5 separate regions of the Homo sapiens genome follow, and all the other regions are linked to region 5. Evidence: promoter capture Hi-C in 16 types of primary human blood cells and fetal thymus (Javierre and others, 2016). All regions are on one chromosome and are shown on one strand. The core of a region is centred on a gene start or on the middle of the fragment in contact, and the rest is flanking DNA. Distances in the headings are between cores, read along the strand shown. Region 1 overlaps LEF1 (lymphoid enhancer binding factor 1). Region 2 overlaps LEF1 (lymphoid enhancer binding factor 1). Region 3 has its middle 20 kb from the start of LEF1. Region 4 has its middle 180 kb from the start of LEF1. Region 5 holds the start of RPL34 (ribosomal protein L34).

Region 1 (2,700 bases), core at 170-2,669, 510 kb before region 5:
CCAAAACATACAACAACTACAAATCTGCTCTTCGAAGAATTCAACAGGACCTCCCTGGCACTCCTTCAAATGGGAGGATGGGCAAATGCAAAACAGCAGTAATGTGTTGGGAGGGTGGGACCATGGATAAATTGCAGGTATGCATGTCGAGAGAAAAGTAAGAGAGGCAAGGAGGATGAAGCACTATGTGGCTATTTCTACTACTCAGCTACCCACTGTCACAAGTGCTTAGAATAATCATTTTGAATAAAAGAAAAGACGGATCCAATTGAAAGTTGCTTTGTTCTGCTTTCAGCTGTAAAAGATTTAGTTCTAGACCCTAAACTCATTTAAAAAACCACTATATGAAGACAAAGAATAAAAAATAAACACATAAGTTTAAAGCAATCTGGAGTTTTTTTTAAGGCAAGTATGTTATAGAAAATTCAAGAAGTTATGATTACTCAAAAATTTTGAGCTATTTATTAACATTTATCAAAAGCTATTCTTTTCATTGCAGAAAATCAGCATATTTAAGTCAGTAGTTACAGTCATACTCTGTGACTGTAATAGGCCAGTTATTTAGCATTTAGGCAAACAAACATAAAGGAAAAGTGTCCTTCAGAGATTTTCTCTCTTCTTTATTGTTAACCCACTTGGTAAGCAAACTAATTTAAAAAGTATTATCAGAGTCAAGTAAAGGAATCTGTAACAAGAAGCCAGGGAGGAGGACCAAGCTTGGCCTAAACGATAAAGGGTTTGTAAAAGCACTTTGTATGCAAAGAATCATATATATGATGATAATGATCATCATCATCACAGTCAAAACAGCAGGATAAGAAATGTCAACTAGGCCCTTCCAGAAAGTGGTTATTGCAGAAACAACACACAAGCATCTTATGTTAACAAGAAAAGGTCAAAATGAGGAAAACAGCAAAGCCATGGTGAAAAGGTAAGCAGTTTGGGGAAACAGCCCCAAGTGATGTGAAAACAAGAGTGTTTTCTAGATGTGGACGTTTAAGTGTGGTGCATATGAGCAGACAAACTCTGCGAGCTAAAGATATGGGACTTAATGTCTGAGGAGATAACACGAAAATACTGTGAGCAGCAGCCAAAGAGCAAGGAAAACACCTTGCCTTCTGGAAAAGGGTTTAAAGAGAGAGCCTTAGGACTTCCGTCAGGGGCTATCAGGTTACATCACGTTGAAGTGTATGTGCAATGTCTGAGAGAACTACCCTTCCTTGTTATAAATGGAACAGCCGGCTTCCTCTGTGAACAGAAACTCCAGAGACCACTGCCCTGCATTTGCCCAGGATGGAATTATCCCGAGCAGCACTTATGGGGCTCGAGGAGGGCAGGGAGCTGCTGCCTAAAAGGAACGGAATGGGATGGGATGGGACAGGAGGAGACGAGCATCCGAATTGTGCTCCCACTGGCCTGCTGTGGACAACCTAAATCCAGGAGGCTAAATTTAAAGAAGCAATTTATAATCCATTTTAGGTTGTAAGGCTTCAAATAAAGATCTATGTCCACATATAATTCCATGCGCACACCTATACTATCTGTTAGGGACAAAAAGTATCTACTGACAATGCAAGTATCCAAATTTATATATTGGAAATGAGCTATCCAAATAGATCAGAGATCAATAGACACAACTGAATGAATATGAGGGCAAGAACAGTAGTAGTAAGTAGAAACAGTGGTGAGACTTGATCAAGAGAAGTTACTCAGATATAATTCGGTTTAATACTGGGAAGCTACCCGCTCTCTCAGTGGCTATGGTGAGTCCATGTCATTCTTCTGCTATGTAACCTTGAGAAAATTTCTTTTTAAGTGTTAATTTTAAGATGGTTCACATTATTGGTCTTGCTAAATACAAGTGTGCTAATAACCCAAGAATTGGTAACTCTGAGCTCTATCTCAAAAATAAATAGTAGCTGATGCCACAGAATAGATAATTGCTATCAAAACAGTAGGATGAAGCTGAGTCCTAATCAGACTGGAAGAGGTTAAAGAGAGAAAGAATAAGATAGTTGTGTAGCTGCTGCTGTAGAAATAGATAAGACTAACCTCTCTCTGCTTCTGGCATTTACAGCATGAGAAAAAAGAATCTGTAATGGAAAATGTTGAAAGATACACTGAAGCTTTTCAAAACATCAGAGCAGTGAGACCTTGAAATTCATTTACTTCAATCCTTGCATTTTACCAATAAGGAAACTGAGGCCCAGAGAGGTTAAAAGGTCTGCCTATAATGTAACACATACACACACACACACACACACACACACACACACACACACACGGCTGTAAGGCAGGCCTGCGGTCTGAAGGCTGCAGTGCCCCTTCCTCTTTACTGCTTTCTTCCCTCTACTGAGGAGCAGTTATGGAAAGCTATTTTTGTAGAGACAATTGAGGTCCCTGACAATGACAGAAGGAAAATAAATGGTGGTTTCAATTCCAAGTTAAGCTATAGGCTCACTGCTGTGCTCCCGCCCAGGCAAGATTTTGACTCTGAGGTAAAATAAGAGAGTCAAATCTGATCAAGGTAGCTGTGTGGGAGTTGGCTTGGAACTCAAACAGTGAAAAGGGCAGGGGGACATGAGCTGGACTCAGCTGACAGGAAAGAGAAACAGTAAGCAAGAAAAAAGGGTGCAGGCCAGGCACAGTGGCTCACACCTGTAATCCCAGCACTTTGGGAGGCCGAGGTGAGAGGACTGC
Region 2 (2,700 bases), core at 54-2,553, 480 kb before region 5:
CTTTCTTTCTTTATTTAAAGTTCAAATGTAGAATAATACAGGGCACTGGAGGAGCAGGCTACAGCACTGGCACTCCATCCTAGAAAAGAGGAGACTGGAGAAGCTGATGGGCCACACAGAGTTATTCCAAATACATCAAGACATACAGATGAAGGATTAAACTCTTATCAATGTGATTCCAAAACAGGATAAAAAAGAGCACGTATTGCCCATTACAATGTGCTAGGCACATCTGATGGTTTGCATGCATACTCTCCATTCCTCACTCTGCTCTATGAAGTAGGAGGTAACATCGTTTTATACATGAGGAAATTAAAACCCTGAGAAGTTAAAGTAAATGGCTCAAGGTCACATAGCAAGCCAAAGGGAGATCCAGGATTCTTATCTGATTCCCAAGTTGAAGCAGAACCCTTTCATATACTCAAAGGGTAATGATAACCCACCCAGCATCCCTGCTTCTTCATACATTTTAATCAATGACTTTAAAAGGGATACAGATGCCTGCCTTTCAAATTCCCATATGACAAGAAAATGGAAGGAATAAAAAACACTACATCACTAGGTCCAAAAAGACCCCAAATGACTAAAGTGACCAAGTGAATTGAGAAGGGGGGTGCTAATATAGATTACAATAAAACATTGCAAGTTGATGGGTCCATAAACCAAACTTGTTAGAGGAAGACAGGAGTTTTAGCTGCCTAAAATCTACTTTGAGCCCAGGTGTCAAGACGCTATTAAGACTCTAAAACCTGCAGCGCATTAATGGAACTCAAACATCCAGAATGAGGGAAGCTACAGACCACTCCTATCCTGTGGGGGGCCAGCTCAATCTGAAGCACTGAGTGTACTTCAAAACCCAAACTTTTATTGGGCCAAAACAAAGAATGTAACTAGGAGTGGGGCCACAACAGCAAACGTTCTGAAACCAGCAGGCACGGAGAATTAAGACTGTTTAGCCTGGAAGAGTGATAAAGGGTAGGAGGAGGCAAATGACAGCAGGCTCAAATACAGATGGAGATGTGCTTCCATCTATTTCTGGTGATGGCCCTGAAATGCAAGCATCCCTTCCAGTGGAGGCTCAGGATGGCGAGAGTGAAGGTGGAGGGAGTTATTCCCACTGGGGGACTGGCATGCCCCAGGAGAGGTACAGTGCTGTGTCTGCTAGCCGGCAAGAACAGGGGCCTCTAGGCAACAACGCCCTGCTTTGTCTATGGAGAGCCTCTAGCAGTGGGAACTGGGGGTAAGGAAGCTGGCTGAGTGACACTTCAATGGCCTGCCAGCGGGGGAGTTGTTTTTAGGCAAGTGGAGACTTGTAGCCCTCCTCCAGCCATATAGTGTAGGTAATTATCCACTGTGAGTCCTTCAAGCTAACCTGCTTGGAGCCTGCAATTCCTTCTGCTCTCCTCCCACGCACCCCATGGGCTGGCTCCAAGAACTTTTTCTTTTTGGCTTCATCCCCCTTTCCCCCAATCCTGCCCAAATGTGAACTGTACAAACAGTATGACTTCTTCCTTGCCCATACATGAAGAAAATCAGTCACAAAATTACTACACAAACAGGTTGAATGAGCAAAAACTGGTCTCAGCTGCTCAGGGGAAGGTGATGATGTGATGTGAAAATAATGAAATCTTTCAAGGGTTAAAATTCAGGTAGAAAAAAACAAAACAAGTTATGGTAGACAAGAGAAGAAAACAGGAAATAACTCTGAACTTAAATGTAAAATAACTTTCAGAAGCATAGTTCATTTTTTCTAAAATAAATGTGCAAACATTAGAAGTTCCATAAAGAACCTGCACCTATAAAATTTCACGTGGTGTTGGTTTAGCATGCTATAAAATTCGTATCTTTCTTAACCATTTCTGCTTTGTCCTTCTACTATATGCGTATTCCCCCCAAAACCTTCAAAACTTAAATTCTACTGGCTATTTGACCAAGTATTCTAAAATCAAAGGATTAATCTTTATAAAAACATGTACAGTTATATAGCATATTGCCAGTTCAAATACTTCTCATCTCCTTAAATTTCCTTTTTTTTTTTTTTTTTAAACTTTAGATGCTTATGCTGCATAGTATTATAACAATTCCAGGTTTGGATACCCCACCCAGATCTGGAAAGTTCAGCAATACATATGATCAAATGCCAGAAGTTTGCCTTTCAGGGGTCTTATAACTGCAGACCTAGAGTTACGATTCACACATTGTATAAAACATGCTATTGTAATTCTTACGGTGACTGAATAGTTAAATCTAATAATATAGGGTCATTTGCCCTTCAGTAAGGTGTCTTTTTCTTTAAAAAACATAAATGTTTGTGATTATTTACCCTACTGTGCTTATAAGATTTTAAAAATAATGTTCTAACTCAAAATATCCAAGGGTAAAAAGGGAAATAACTTCCAATAATTTTTATGAAATTATATAAGTATGTAGTCATTGAAAACTAAATAGCTACCAATAAGGGCTCTAAGTCTTCCTTTAAAATTCTGAGAGGTTGTCTGGTCATTTTTGCTAAGGATAAAGCTATTTAACCCAGACTAAGTTTCTTCTGGCTTATTAAAAAGTCAACTTTTTCTTTATTGTAAGTACTTTAAAATTGACTTTAATGTTAGTTAAAATATGTATTTGGTGCCTCTCCCTAAATAAGTATTGTAATTATTCTTCAAACAGTACAGAATTTTGAAGCTACGAAGAATAGTTTTT
Region 3 (2,700 bases), core at 18-2,517, 430 kb before region 5:
CTTGAAGTCAGTACAAAGACACGCTAGAGTCAAGATGCGGGGAGGATTGTGAAATCCAAGGTTCTTGTTATTTAGATTAAACCTCCAGGTAACAGCCTTAGAATAGATGGTAAATGTCTCTTTTCAAAACTTTTCGAAACAAAACTCTCCTTTAGTCCCTTTTAGATCCAGGAAAAACTAGAAAGGGAAGGAGATTTTCTAGAGATGCAAATTTCCCCGAGAGAGGGCTTTCTAGGGCCATTTCAAAATATGTCAAAGAAATATATTTTAGGGTAAAATCACTTTATTTCCTTCAGAGTCTTCTATCTCATGTGATGCTATATCAGAATCAGGTTGGAATTTGGTAACTTATTGCCACAAAGAGTCTGTTTCTGTCAGTCTTATGATCTCTATTTCAGTGTTAATGCTGGTCAGTTGTCCTAAACTCTAGAAGGGAGGGGTATAACCAGGCATGCCTGACGTCCCTTCCTCTTATGGCTGGGAATTCAGTTTTTCGTGTTTCTCTGGGATCCCCTTGGCACAGAGGGGGTCCATACAGTCAGTTGGGGGGCTTGGCATTTTTTTGGTTTACAAACTTAGGTCAGTTTATGTCCCTCCTCTGCTCAGAATGCCCCAGCAGCTTACCATTTCCCAATGTTCTGCAGGATCCTGTGTGATCTACACCCACCTCTTACTTTTCTGATCTCATCTCTCACTGTTCCCCTTGCTTTCTGTGCATTGGCCACTTGAGTTTATTTGCTTTCTCAAATCTTGGGCATGTTCTTACCCCAGCATCTTTGCAGAGGCTATTTCCTTTCTTCGTAGTAATGTTTCCCCAGATCTTCACATGGCTCACTCCCTCACCTCCTGCAGGTCTTTCCAAATATCCCTTGTCAGTAAGGTCTTCCCTGATCACCCTATTTAAAATTATAACTCCTCCCCTAGCTGTTGGTACTCTTTATCCTCGTCTCTCACTATATTTGTAGTACTTATTACCAGCTGACATCCTATGTATTTTATTCATTTATTTTTATTTTTTGACTGTCTTCCCTAGTAGAATGTAATTCCCTGGAGGGAAGGGATTTTTGTCTGTTTCCTTCATTGCTATAAATCTAGGCACCTAGAACAGTTCCTGACTTGCAGATAGAATCCAATAAATGTTTGTTGAATGAAAGAATATCTACAAAAATACATACACAAAAGTATCGTAGCACATAGTACCTATATACTTTACCTCTTGTTATTGTTGTGATCTCCTAAATGGATATAGCTTAATATACATATAAACAATAAATCATATTTTAAACAAATCAGGGAAGCTGTTATTAGAAGGCATTTGATGGCCCTTTTTTAAAGGTAAAAGTTCCATTTAAAAGTAAACAGTCATACTCTAATTTGTCTGTGTTGTCAATGTGACCTGCTTCTCTAGAGACAACTCTTTTGGAATGCTCTATTGAGCAGGCAGGTATTATGAAGCTATTTCTAATTGATAGGGAGAAGAGTAAACAAAATATCTGAAAAGTTCTGTTTTTCAGTGGCCTGGATGGAATTCCACCAGGCCCCTCAGGACAGTTGTTGGGCCAGGCTTTATCCTTGCTGAGCTGTTTCAGGCCTTACAAGAGTATTTGAAGGTTTCCAGGGGTTGGGGAGCCTTGGCTTGGTGGTATGGGAGATGATTTTGAGTGATTTACAGGACTAGCAATAAATTATTTTCACTCAAATCATGAGAAAACTATTTCCTTTTCTATTCTCTATCAGTCTAGTACCTGTAGCAGCCTCTGTTGGAACCTGGCCCATACCTTTTCACCTTTATCAAGTGGGTGTATGCCTGCCAGAGTTACACCTACAGCCCTTATATTCTTTGCCCAAGGCCTTCTCTTGACTATGAGACCTGCTTTGCTGCCCACAAGGCAACCCAGGAATGCTGGGGAATTAATGTCCTAGGGATTGACCTTCAACAAGTGACTAATAGCAGTTGGTGTATAAATACCCCGTCTCTCTCATTCTTTGTGTAGGCGAATTCTGAGGTGTGTTTTACACTGGCTCCCTGAGTTTCCTCAGAGGGATGAAGCTCTAGTTGTCCACAGTGAGAGCTGGCTTGATAATATGTTATTCAATTGCTTCCTTCTCTTTTCTGCCTCACTTCCCACCTCCTTCATTGTGTTTCCACATTTCCTTCACCTCGCAAGTAAACTAATTGCAACTGAATTCTAGTCACAGGTTTGCTTCTGGGAAAACTTGAACTACAGTACCTGCAAATCTTTAACCATTTCTAGTGCCTGTTTATTTCCCTTTTTACCAGAGAGCTAGATCAGGTCTCAGGCTAGAAACCTCGAGTTGTTGAGAGAATCTTGCTAGAATTTATACTAAGAGGGTTTTTTTCCCCTTCATTATATTTATTTTTTAATTGCCTACTATTTATTGTGATATTAGATTTTCCATTTACTATTGTGATATAACTGGATTCATGTAAGAACTACTTTATTTAAACCAATTGGTTTAAATAAAATGCTTATAATAAGACTGGTGGTAAAGAGATATGGCAAAAATCATAGACACACATGGCTGAAGCTTGGGGAAAAACCTGCTGTGAGTTCCTGAGCTAGCTCTGGAGGATCTTTGGAAGAACCAGAAAGTTTCACACTGTGCTTCATGTGCGGCCTGTACAAAATGGCAAGCAGTAATACGTAACAACTGTATTGTTTTATGCCATATTCCTCA
Region 4 (2,747 bases), core at 168-2,667, 270 kb before region 5:
CCAATCTACTCCCTCTGCCTGCCCTCTGGGAGGCTGAGGTGAGGGAGGTGGGTGTACCCACTAGCAAAACGTGATCCCAGGCCTGGGTCCGTTCCTCTGTTTTGCCTTTGCTTAAAACGTGCGGGAGGGCTCCTTTGAAGGCCAGAGAAAGGCAAGTCCATCATCTGGGAGGAGGAGACACACACATAGGATGTCACCATGCCATATCCTTAGTCCCTCGCTGGACTGGGTCAGATTTGGAGGTAAGGCTGTGAAAACATCCAGTCACCCAGTCACTGCCTGGCCTCCGCCAATGTGTCCTGACTCCAACCCAGTCTAGTAAGCCCCTTTTGGACTCTCACTGCTCTGTCACTCCTGTGTTCACTTCCTATATTTTCACACAGATGTGGCTTAGTGTTTTCTTTCTAAGGCATATTTTGCATGGAAGAATGCTTCCAGTGAGCTGAGGCCCTAATTGCCAAATAATGGTTGCCAAAACATGTTATTTTGGCTTCAAGCTGGTACAGAGCTGAGGCATTTTCCCCTCTTAAAAAAAAAAAAAAAAATCCATCCTCAGCAGCCCAAGGGCCATTTGCAAACACACAGGACTGAGCCCTCCATGGCTCTTCCTTCAGCTGGTGAGGGTGACTCCTTGTCACTTGAGGCAGCCTCAGTGGACCTCGTCCTTGCACGGGGGAAGCTCCACGGTGGGGCCGCCTCTGGGCTGTGGGCGCCAGGCTAAACGAAGGTGCTGAGACTTGCCTCCCACCAAGCCCCGCCAAGGGCTGCCTGCTCTGCCACGAGGGGTGTTCCTGCCGCCCCGCGCTGCAGTGGGAAGTGTCTGCCAGCTAACTGCAAACACAAGCCTACCAGCAAGCACGGGAATTCCAGATAGAGACAAATCTAGGGCCTCAGGGGAAGCTGGATGGAACTGATCAGTGTGAGAGATATCACCGCTAATTAAGTCCTGATCCCCTGGCTCCACTTGAAACAAACCAAGGAGGGATCAAGTTTTGCGAGCAGGTGCTAACTGGTTGCAAAAGAGGAGTCCATCACTTCAGCAAAAGGTTTCACTGTACCTTGGGGAGGACACAGCTTTTCTGAGGAAAGTCATTACTGGACAGAGCCATAGGCTCTTATTTTGTCTTAGGACACGGAGGAGCTTGTAAAAAACAAAAAAACACAAAAAACAATCCTCCGCTGTGACAAACAACTGTTTTCCTTTCCTGTGTTTTCCCCTTGATGGCTGATTTACTTTCTCCTCAGATGGACAATGGAGTAATTTACAGGTCAGTAAACACTTTCCTGGAGATGCCGGAGCAGTTTCATTTTGGTACAGATAATATGGGATTTGTTGTGACTCAGAATATCAGTCCAGAGTGGGACTGACACAGCCACCTACCCTGACTGTTTAAGAAAAAACAATTCTAAGTACAATGCATAAATAAACCTAACAGCAAATACTTACCTGCAGAAAGAAAATCTGAGAGCTCCATGAGTATTGTGTATGTGTGTGTGAAGAGGGAAAGTGATGTGTTAAGGAGCTGGACAAATATCCTGTCAAACATCCATGATTTTTTTTATTCTCGGAAATGTTGCCTTGATTCTAGAAATTATGACTTTGAATACCTACTAACATGTACTGGGCACTTCTATGTGCCCGGAGCTCTGCCAAGTGTTTTACATTCATTATCTCATTTGACCTTTATGAGGGCCATAGGAAGTAGATGTGACTTAGAGATGTTAAATAACACCTCTAGTAAGTGACCCGCCAAAGTTTGGAATGCCACCAGAGTGTGTATTTCTAAACGTGATGCTATCCTGCCTCCCAACTTTGGATTCTGCACAGAAATAGCAAAATACTTTGCACATTAAGTGCCCAAGAAATGCATTAAGTGAATGATTGAACAATGATTGAATGGTGATATTAAGGACTCACTGTTTTTGCAATATTGTAAGCATCTTTTCAAATTATTCCCATACGTTCGTACTAAAACAGTAACTTGGGAAATTGTTCTACTATACGTTAAGTCTGACAGTCTAGAGATCTCTGATTTTGGGGACAATATTTGTATTGAGTAAAAAAAATTATTCTGAGGGTCTTCCTTTGATCTGAGTGAAGAATGTTTTGAATCTTGACAGGGCTGGACCTACATTTGGCACATTTTGATAACCTGCAGGCAAGTTGGCTGAAGTTGCTGGCAGTGACTCCAGAAATCATTATCAACATAATTTCCTTTTTCTTATGACATGTAATCCTTCCCCTATCCTCACAACCCAATCTTTCGACCACTCTTGATAGTGGGAGGCTGCTGCTTTGAGTCATGTACCCAGCCACTGAGCACAGGCTTTCTCTGGAATGTGTCCTGTGTTGATTGCACTATTTATTAGTTTTATAGCAACAGAGCTGAGTGCTTCTTTGGTGTCTTTCTTGGGATTGTGTACATCATTCAGCCAGAAACAAAGAGTAGTTTGGATCCTTGCTGGCACCTGAACTGACTTGAAAGGGAATTTAGAGTTAAATCCTTATAACGCATAGATGTTTATGAGAAACATTGTTTTATACATGTTTATGGAAATAAAATTATTTCAAATGATGGTGCTTGAGGGTACTATGAGATGAGACAGGGCTGAGCTCAATAGTGAAGGCACAGAAATGGAAATGCTAAAGGGAGTTTTAATGGTTGGCTTTAGCTCTGATGGGGGCAACGAGGCCTTAACCTTGTTTTCTTTACCAGCTCTTCCACTGTCCTTTTGGCTTGCTGAGA
Region 5 (2,700 bases), core at 130-2,629:
TATGCAAGCTTCCATCTCAATGCCTGGCACAGAGACGAAAAGGATTTCAGAGGACAAAAATCAAAGGACTGGAAAGGAGGGAAGTAGCTGATGACAAGGTCGGGGGAGAAGCAGCTATTTGAGAGTGAGCAGAGGGAAGGATATAACCAGAGCCTTCCATCTGGTGTTGTGACAAAGATGGCAGTGATGTGAGGCTTGATAGAATCAATAGGCCTCACAGTTCAAGACAGACTACATGCCCTCAGTCACTTGCCTGCTTTCTTGGTTTGCTAGATGGATTAGAAATACTAGAAGGAAAGTTGAGTGGGTACTGGGATATCCTATCCAAATCCTCTCTTCTGGGGCAATGCAGCTGCCTCACAGCAACCACGTTGTGGATCACCTGACCCCGCCTTTCTCAGCTTCCTGGAGGTGCATTCTAAGAGCGCTCCCCATAAGCCAACACTCAAGTCTCTTCGAGGTGTGTTTCCAGGGAGCCTGATCTAAGATTAAAAACTTAAAGGCCCCTTTTAGAATTGTCTTTTACAGCCCAGGCAAAGAGTTCTTTACTTTTTTAGAGGTCATGAATCCCTTTGACAAGGTGATGAAAGCCAGGGACCCTCTTCTCAGAAAAATACACACGTGCGCTTAATGTAAAATTTTACATACTGTTTTAAAGGTTAAACTTTACCACCCATGAAAAGCCTCAAGTAGTTCTTTGTACATAATCATAAGATTAGCAACCATTTACTGAGCACTTCCTCTCTATAAGACCCTGTGCTAAGTGCTTTAACTTCATAATGCCTTTGATCATGACATAACATGGCACGGTAGTTCCTAATATCTTCCTTTTAGAGATTTAAGGGCTTGCTCAAAGTAACATAGCTAATAATTAGCAGACACTGGATTAAAATCCCAATTTGTTTGTAAAGCTTGTGCTCTGAATAAATGACAAGGAAAGAGAAGGGAAGGTTGAAGAAGGGAAGGTTCTTGAAGGTCCCTGGTCCTTGAAGGTCCCTTAACCATAAATGTCAAGAGTTGGGATTTAAACCCAGGTCTAACGCCAGAGCTGGCGCCCTTTAGATTAAAAGTGCAGTGTCCATGACAACGAAAGAAGTTGATTTTGTCCCACCTTTGCTCTTTGCGGCTTTTCATTTGCGTTTGTTTCCACAGCGATTTCCAATAGATTTCTGCGTGGCCTTGACACAGACAGCTAGTGTGAATCCCCGCCCACAGAGGGGCGGCACGTTGGTTGCCGTACAACGTGGTGGTTCCCTGCATCTCTGCCCACGTCGGAGAGGTGCGTCGGCTTCCGTACAACACGGATACTCTCTCTCTGACGCAACTTCCTGTCCTGCGCAATTCTATTTGACCTTTGAACTGGCAAAGGCTTTTTTCTTCCTCTTCCGGGGACGTTGTCTGCAGGTATGGATGTTGTTCTCTTTTCCCTGTCTTTATTTCCTTACCAATCGGCTGCCATCCGAGGAGCTGAGGAAGCCTAGAGCTCTCAGAAGCAGTCCTTTGAGCTGGTGTAGGGGTAAGGGGCACAACAGGGAGGTTGGTGGTGAGGAAGTTCCTTACTTTGATCTTTGGAAATCCCTTGTTCCTGGTGGCACCTCCAAAGCCGTGAGTAGCCACAGCTCACCACCCGGGACTTTGCTGCATTCCAAGTGTAGCGTTTGGAGACTAACGAGTTGTGGTTTGGCGGTTTGAGTCTGGAAAATCGCCAAACGTTTTCATATTTTACACCCACGTTTTCACAGCACGCCTGTACGTGTCCTTAGTCTTTGGGAGGGCAGGGTCCGGCGAGTTCGGGTGGTTTCGCTATTTGGCTTCTGCGTCCAAGGCCCATGTCAAGGAAGAGAAAAATGTGTTAGAAGTTTCTGTCTTGCTTTTGGAGATGCAAACAGAATAATGGCTTCATAAATCACTCGCACTGGTTTTACGTGTCAAGTTTTGGTGTCTGGTAATTCTGTTTTAGTTTAATTTTAGTGAGAGGCTTGTGACAACAAATGAGGTGGTTACAAGGGGTGGAATGGGAAGATTAAATTAGTTCAAGTATTGATTATGTTTTACGTTGGGTAGTTCCCTTAACGAAGTTGCTCGTATGCATATCTGTATAACCGATTTGCTAAATAACATCACGATGTTTCCAGAAGTGGGAAGAAAGCAGGTGCCATAACCCAAAGAAACTTGTGTAATATCAAAATTAGTATTAAAGGGTATGCCTTTACGCAGGTGGTGCTTTAGGGCAAGACATTGAACCCTGATATGTGCCAGGCATTGTGTTGGGACGGATAGCCCACGTCGTTTAATCCTAATGACAGCTGTATAAAGTAGACAGAATTCCCATGTTAGAGATAAGGAGGCTAGCTCCTTGCCCTTTATATTCCCAGTAAATGGCATAGCTAAGGATTCGACTTCAGAGCTCACTTTTTGTGCTCTTTGTTTAAAGCGGTGTTTCTCCAACTGGGCTCGTGGCACTTTTCTGGACACCACTCCAAACAAAATTAGACTCTGAGTAAGGAGCCTGGTCATCAGAACGTTAAGGAAGTGCCACGTTTGATTACCATCAGGAAAGCTAACATTCTTGGCCTCTTGTTTATCAGTCACCTTTAAATACAAGTAGTTTTAAAATGTGGAATAATACATCTTAATTTAAGGGTGTTACATACAAGGATATGTATGTGAATGAAATAGACCACATGATACTGTTTTGAG

The links. The method cuts DNA at HindIII sites, captures the fragments that hold promoters and counts their contacts. A CHiCAGO score of 5 or more calls a contact.
Region 1: a contact is called between a fragment that was not itself captured here and the fragment with the promoter of RPL34 in region 5, in 8 of 17 cell types (fetal thymus, naive CD4 T cells, megakaryocytes and 5 more). The highest score is 13.9, in fetal thymus.
Region 2: a fragment that was not itself captured here is called in contact with the fragment with the promoter of RPL34 in region 5 in 5 of 17 cell types (fetal thymus, activated CD4 T cells, naive CD4 T cells and 2 more); the score reaches 9.6 in fetal thymus.
Region 3: a fragment that was not itself captured here is called in contact with the fragment with the promoter of RPL34 in region 5 in 1 of 17 cell types (non-activated CD4 T cells); the score reaches 5.3 in non-activated CD4 T cells.
Region 4: a contact is called between a fragment that was not itself captured here and the fragment with the promoter of RPL34 in region 5, in 1 of 17 cell types (fetal thymus). The highest score is 6.4, in fetal thymus.

What each region holds. Positions count from the first base shown.
Region 1 is chr4:108,113,603-108,116,302 of GRCh38, forward strand. The region is part of intron 3 of LEF1 (lymphoid enhancer binding factor 1); the gene reads right to left. Among named protein-coding and RNA genes, the nearest start is that of LEF1-AS1, 53 kb to the right of the region's middle. The HindIII fragment of the contact is 1,410 bases long and covers 715-2,124 here.
Region 2 is chr4:108,134,439-108,137,138 of GRCh38, forward strand. The region is part of intron 3 of LEF1 (lymphoid enhancer binding factor 1); the gene reads right to left. Among named protein-coding and RNA genes, the nearest start is that of LEF1-AS1, 32 kb to the right of the region's middle. RefSeq lists an enhancer at 979-1,530. The HindIII fragment of the contact is 6,783 bases long and covers 1-2,700 here.
Region 3 is chr4:108,187,147-108,189,846 of GRCh38, forward strand. No RefSeq gene overlaps it. Among named protein-coding and RNA genes, the nearest start is that of LEF1, 20 kb to the left of the region's middle. RefSeq lists an enhancer at 1-154. The HindIII fragment of the contact is 2,561 bases long and covers 1-2,548 here.
Region 4 is chr4:108,349,688-108,352,434 of GRCh38, forward strand. No RefSeq gene overlaps it. Among named protein-coding and RNA genes, the nearest start is that of LEF1, 180 kb to the left of the region's middle. The HindIII fragment of the contact is 6,562 bases long and covers 1-2,747 here.
Region 5 is chr4:108,619,197-108,621,896 of GRCh38, forward strand. RPL34 (ribosomal protein L34) reads left to right here and starts at 1,380. Exons shown (of 5, transcript NM_001319236.2): 1 at 1,380-1,404. It overlaps RPL34-DT (RPL34 divergent transcript), which reads right to left and starts at 1,261. Exons shown (of 4, transcript NR_026968.1): 1 at 1,112-1,261. RefSeq lists enhancers at 918-2,117, 1,343-1,392. The HindIII fragment of the contact is 3,742 bases long and covers 910-2,700 here.